Linked DNA regions of Homo sapiens: region 1 is linked to region 2. The links are contacts of gene promoters, found by promoter capture Hi-C in human tissues and cell types (Jung and others, 2019). All regions are on one chromosome and are shown on one strand. The core of a region is centred on a gene start or on the middle of the fragment in contact, and the rest is flanking DNA. Distances in the headings are between cores, read along the strand shown.

What was found. Contacts are between HindIII fragments. The study calls those that stand out against the background at their distance.
Region 1: a contact is called between a fragment that was not itself captured here and the fragment with the promoter of FUNDC1 in region 2, in 1 of the 25 tissues and cell types used here (stomach).

What each region holds. Positions count from the first base shown.
Region 1 is chrX:44,378,563-44,381,262 of GRCh38, forward strand. No RefSeq gene overlaps it. Among named protein-coding and RNA genes, the nearest start is that of EFHC2, 36 kb to the left of the region's middle. The HindIII fragment of the contact is 3,616 bases long and covers 1-2,700 here.
Region 2 is chrX:44,541,431-44,544,130 of GRCh38, forward strand. FUNDC1 (FUN14 domain containing 1) reads right to left here and starts at 1,429. Exons shown (of 5, transcript NM_173794.4): 1 at 1,375-1,429; 2 at 515-671. The coding sequence starts at 1,402. RefSeq lists enhancers at 1,124-1,513, 1,694-1,743, 1,754-1,813. The HindIII fragment of the contact is 19,174 bases long and covers 1-2,700 here.

The DNA of each region.
Region 1 (2,700 bases), core at 23-2,522, 160 kb before region 2:
AAGGAAAGCAGATAGATGTTCAGCATAAACCGCATTGCTTGCATGAAGTTTAGGCACAGTGAGCCACTCTTACCAATTCTAGAAATGGTGGGAACCCTCCTGAAATTCAAGTTCTGGGATACCAGCTAAGAGCCAACCTTGTGAGCAAGCCTTTCTAAGGATAAGCAGTTAGGACTCTATGTTAACTCTTTACTGCACTGAGGTAACAGTTTATCTCATGGGTGCTTTTTTTTCTCTCCTCGTGGCTTGTGTCATTATTCCCATCTCTTAAGATCTAAAGCAAAGGCCTTTTAGTAAAATGAATCAACATATATTTGGGCCTTGAGGGTGTGTGTGTGTGTGTGTGTGTGTGAGAGAGAGAGAGAGAGAGAGAGAGAGAAAGAAGGATCGGAAACGGTGTAATCCCAGCACTTTGGGAGGCCAAGGTGGGTGGATCATTTGAGGTCAGGAGTTCGAGACCACCCTCGCCAACATGGTGAAACCCCATCTCTACTAAAAATATAAAGGAAAAAATTAGCCAGGTGTGATGGCGGGTGCCTGTAATCCCAGCTACTTGGGAGGCTGAGGCAGGAGAAGCGACTGATCCTGGGAGGTGAAGGTTGCAGTGAGGTGAGATCACGCCACCACACTCCAGCCTGGGTGACAGAGCAAGACTCCATCTCAAAAAAAAAAAAAAAAAAAAAGGGAGAGAGAGAGTGAGTGAGTGAATACTTAAAATAGTCATCATAATTGAAACAGCCTAAGCATTTTGGGTTGCAGATGTCTGTCTGAAGTCTTTCCTTTATGGCTAATACATTTTGAAGCCCTTACCCAGATGAGTAATTACAAGAAAGTGCAGTGGCCCACTGTTTCTGTTTTAAAATCATTCCCCACCCATTAGAATTTGCTTCAGCTGCTTTTAATATCAATTTTTATATGCAGGTACTTAGTAAAATAACAAAAATAAAAATACACCTCTGGGCAACATTTCTTCTTCACTTCAGTCACTTTTTTTTTTTAAGTCCACACCTCATCTGTTGTGTGTGGAATTGCAACTACATTTTTAGTACTGAGTTTGCGTATGGGTCTGATTTTTACCTCTTTTTTTCTTTGCTGTGTAGTTGATGTGTCTGTAACATACAATCCTATATAAAGCAAAGTCAAAGCTTCCAAGGCAAAGAAATATTTGAAATCAATCATAATCACATCTTATTCAAATAAGGCTCTTACTTCCTGAGAATTCTTCTATATCATCTGGTGCCCAAATCTTGCAGATCAATGGCCTTCAACTTTTACTCCTGGGAGATTATTTCAAATAATGACTCTCTTGCACATGCTCTTCTTCAAATCCTTATCTTCCCCAAATTTATTTAAATTGACTATGTATTCATTTTTTATTTATTCGTGGACTAAACATTTATTTAATGTCTATCATATGCCTTCTGGGTATTGGAGATACAAATATTAAAGAAAACAAAGTCACTGTGCTCAAGGAGTTAAAAGTCTAATAGGACAATTAAACAGGTTAAAAAGGCTGGGCACAGTGGCTCACACCTGTAATCCCAGCACTTTGGGAGGCCGAGGTGGGTGGATCACCTGAGGTCAGGAGTTCGAGACCAGCCTGGCCAACATGGTGAAACCCTGTCTCTACTAAAAATATAAAAAAATTAGCTGGGAGTGGCTGCGAGAGCCTGTAATCCCAGCTACTCAGGAGGCTGAAGCAGGAGTATGGCTTGAACCCAGGAGGCAGAGGTTGCAATGAGCCAAGATCGCACCATTAGACTCCAGCCTGGGCGACAGAGTGAGACTCCGTCTCAAAACAAAACAAAACAACAACAACAACAAAATAAAAATAAAACAGGTTAAAAAAACACAAATGTCTAAAGCACCAGGTATACAGGACATGGAGTAAGTAGAGGAGATAGAGTTTAAGTGGATCAGAAAAGGTTTCAGATACATGAATTCAGTTTAGAAAGATAAGTAGGAATTCATCAGAGAAACCCCAATATTCCACATGTACAGCGACCCAAAGAATGAAAACAAATGGCATATTCAAGGAATTGTCACTAACTTAGCTTGCCAAAGGGTAGGGCAAGTGGCAGGAGGTAAAACTGAAAACATTGTCAGAGGCCAGATTGTGTAGGGACTTGGAAACTATGCTTGCGAATTTTGATATTGTCCTGTAGGCAATGTTTAATCCCGGAAGAATTTTAAGCAAGAAAGAGATGTGTTGAGGTTTATGTTAGGAAGAAATATCTCTTGGGACACACTAAAGGGGGTTGGAATGGAAGACATTGAGTCCATTTGGGAAGATGCTGGCTAATCCCAGTGGGGGATTATGTGGGCCTGACCTGTTGTGACTAAGAATTACTTATTCGTAATTTAAGTCCGCATTTTAAGCTGTATTCAAAACAGAGAGGCCCGGCACCGTGGCTTATGCTGATAATCCCAGCACCTTGGAAAGCTGAGGCAGGAAGATCACTTGAGCCCAGTTCAAGACCAGCCTGGACAACATAGTGAGACCTTGTCTCTACATAATAAAAAAATTTAAAAATTAGCCAAGCACAGTGACATGTACCTACAGTCCCAAGTACTCAGGAGGCTGAGGTGGGAGGATCACTTGAATCTGGGAGATGGAGGCTGCAGTGAGCCGTGATTGTACCACTACACTCCAGCCTGGGTGGCAGAGTGAGAATCTTTCTCAACCTCCCCCACTCCCCC
Region 2 (2,700 bases), core at 179-2,678:
CAAAGAGTTATCATAATCTGAACGAGCCCACAAAAAACAGAATCATCTGTATCATCACCAATAATTCATACTGAGCATTTTACACTGCTCTGTACAGGGCTGACAATACTAGAGGCCAGTTCTACCGTGGGAGTTTCTTAGGTTTTTTCAGCAGTTAGCACTGAATGAAATGTAAAAATTTACATATAATTAACTCATATATTTCTTCCTATCTACTATCACTGAATCAGATCCACGACATTTGCTGAACATGAGAATGGGGAAATTATATAAAGAATCAAAAGAAGGATGAGGAGGGAGAAGAGGAACAGTGGTGGGCATGGGGGAGGGGATCGCCAAAACTCAACAGGGAGCCTGGGAATGTAGATTACATCAATTTTAACTCAGAGAAAAGCCTCTTCTGGAATTAACAGTGTAGACCTACTGCCTGTGCACGGTGATTCTTGCCCATGTATGAAAGGACAGCAGTGTCAGGCCCCCAAATGAAATTTAATGAAAAAGACGTTGTTCTCACCAGCCAGTAACGCCACCCATTACAATCTGGGTAGCTACTGAGTATTTTTCTACCATAGGTCCCGAACTGTGGCCAAACACTCGATTCCACCACTGGTGTCTTCTTGCATACTCAGTTAAATCCAACACTTCATAAGAGTCGTCATCACTTTCATAGTCTTCAAAATAGCAAAATGCAAAAAATAAATGTAGAGTCAATCAAAAGTCAGAAATGTTCTATACATCTTTTTAAAAATCTGTTACAACTCATTAGTTCTGGCCTACAGCTAAAAATGCCCACATAGAAACTACTGACTTTATTTAACTCAATTCTTGAGACCAGGGCCTCAAGAGTAAAGGACCCTGCAACAATGACCCCCATCTGCTTTCCCAAAGGCCCGGGGACCAGCCTGGGGTCACGAAGCCAGGGCCAACTCAGAATGACACAGTAGTGAGGGGTCACCCCCACCTCCAAACCTTAGTAGGGTCAAGGTCAGAGCAGGGTCCATTTTCATCAGTGGGAGGAATGGGGGTGGGGAGGGGTCCTCCTGAGAGAACTAGTCTGGAGCTCAGCGAAATCACTTGAGTCCAGACGTTTAAAAAAAGAAAATAATACATTTGAAGATGGGAGATGAAGGGCCGGAGGTGAAGGTAAGGCAGGAGGCAGGTAGGGCTGTGCTGGGGGTGGGGGTGGCTCTCCGCTTGAGTTCCGCAGAGAGGGGAGGAAAAAGTCTAGCTCGGAGGGGGTGCTCGAAGGGGCTGCCTTAAAAAAAAAATGGAGCTCGAAGAATCCTAGGGCAGGGGAAGGAAGAGGTGCCATAGGAGCAAGGTCGAGAGCTGTGAGCCGCGTCCCAGATACCACTTCGGGCCCTGGCCGCTCACCTTGGGGAGGGGGGTTCCGGGTCGCCATGATACCGCCAGCGGCCAATTCTGGAGTGGTCCCCACCCGCCCTCCTCTCCCTGGCACTTTAAGGGCCGCTCTAGGCCAGGATGGAAGTCTATGGTCTCTTTTTTCCTCCTTCTCCTACTCCAGGCGCGTAGTCCTGTCTCCGCCCCCTTCTCTCAGCGCAGGACCTTCTGCCTTCTGCGCAGGCGCGAAACTCCGGAATGTGGGGAGGGCCGGGCGGATCATAGCCCCGCGAGAGCGTAGGGGACTTGTAGTCCGTTGCCTTCCGCAACTAGGAAGGGGGAGGGACCGCCCCTCCTAGAATTTCCGTAACTTGAATTTGATTATTTTGTTTTAAAAGAGCCTTAAGGGCTGAAGGAATGGGGTGAAGGGCGCCACATGGTGGTACAAAGGGAGAACCAGCTGGGTATTGACAAAGACTCTCTCCTTGACCAAACTTTAGTCAGGAGGCTCCTCTGAGCTGTTTTTGACTGGGTCTCCTCCTTGGGTCGTCTTTGACCTGCCTAGTCCATTTGTGGTAAGAATGCAGTTAAGTCAGTTTAGTAAGAACTCCCCCACCCTTAATATCGAATCACCCTCAATATCCGATCGAATTCCTCAACCCCACTCTTGATATCTGATCACTCTGCCACCAGCAAAAATCCTGTTAAATTGGCTTTAGCAAGAATACCCCTACCCTTCATGTCTACTCTTGGTAATCTTCCACCCATTGATCCATTCACTCTGATCATTTACTATAAATTCCCTGCTGTATTCAGAGTTGAGACCCATCACTCACCCCTATTGCCATAGTCTTTGTTTTATGAGAAAAGGTATTGCTCTGTCACCAGGCTGGAGTGCAGTGGCGCTATCATGGCTCACTGCAGCCTCAAACTCCTGGGCCCAAGAGATCGGCCCACCTCAGCCTCCAGAGTACCCAGGACTCCAGGCGTGCATCACCACTCCCGGCTAATTTATTTTTATTTTTTGTGGAGAGTAGGTCTCCCTGTGTTGCCCAGGCTGCTCTTAAACTTCTGGGCTCAAGCAGTCTTCCTGCCTCTGCCTCCCAAAGTGCTGGGATTACAGATGTGAGCCACCATGCCAGGCTGTATTGCAATAGTTGTGATACCTATTGCAGTAGTCATGAACAAAGTCTTCCTTACCATTTTAAGAAGTGTCCCATAATTTTTTTGTCAGGCCCATCACTTGCATACTGTCAGAATAATTTTTTAACAGTATTTTGAACATTACCAGAATTCAAATGCTTGAGGAAAAAGGCTTGTAAAAGATAAGAGAAACCCTGTTTCAAGCCATACTTTTCT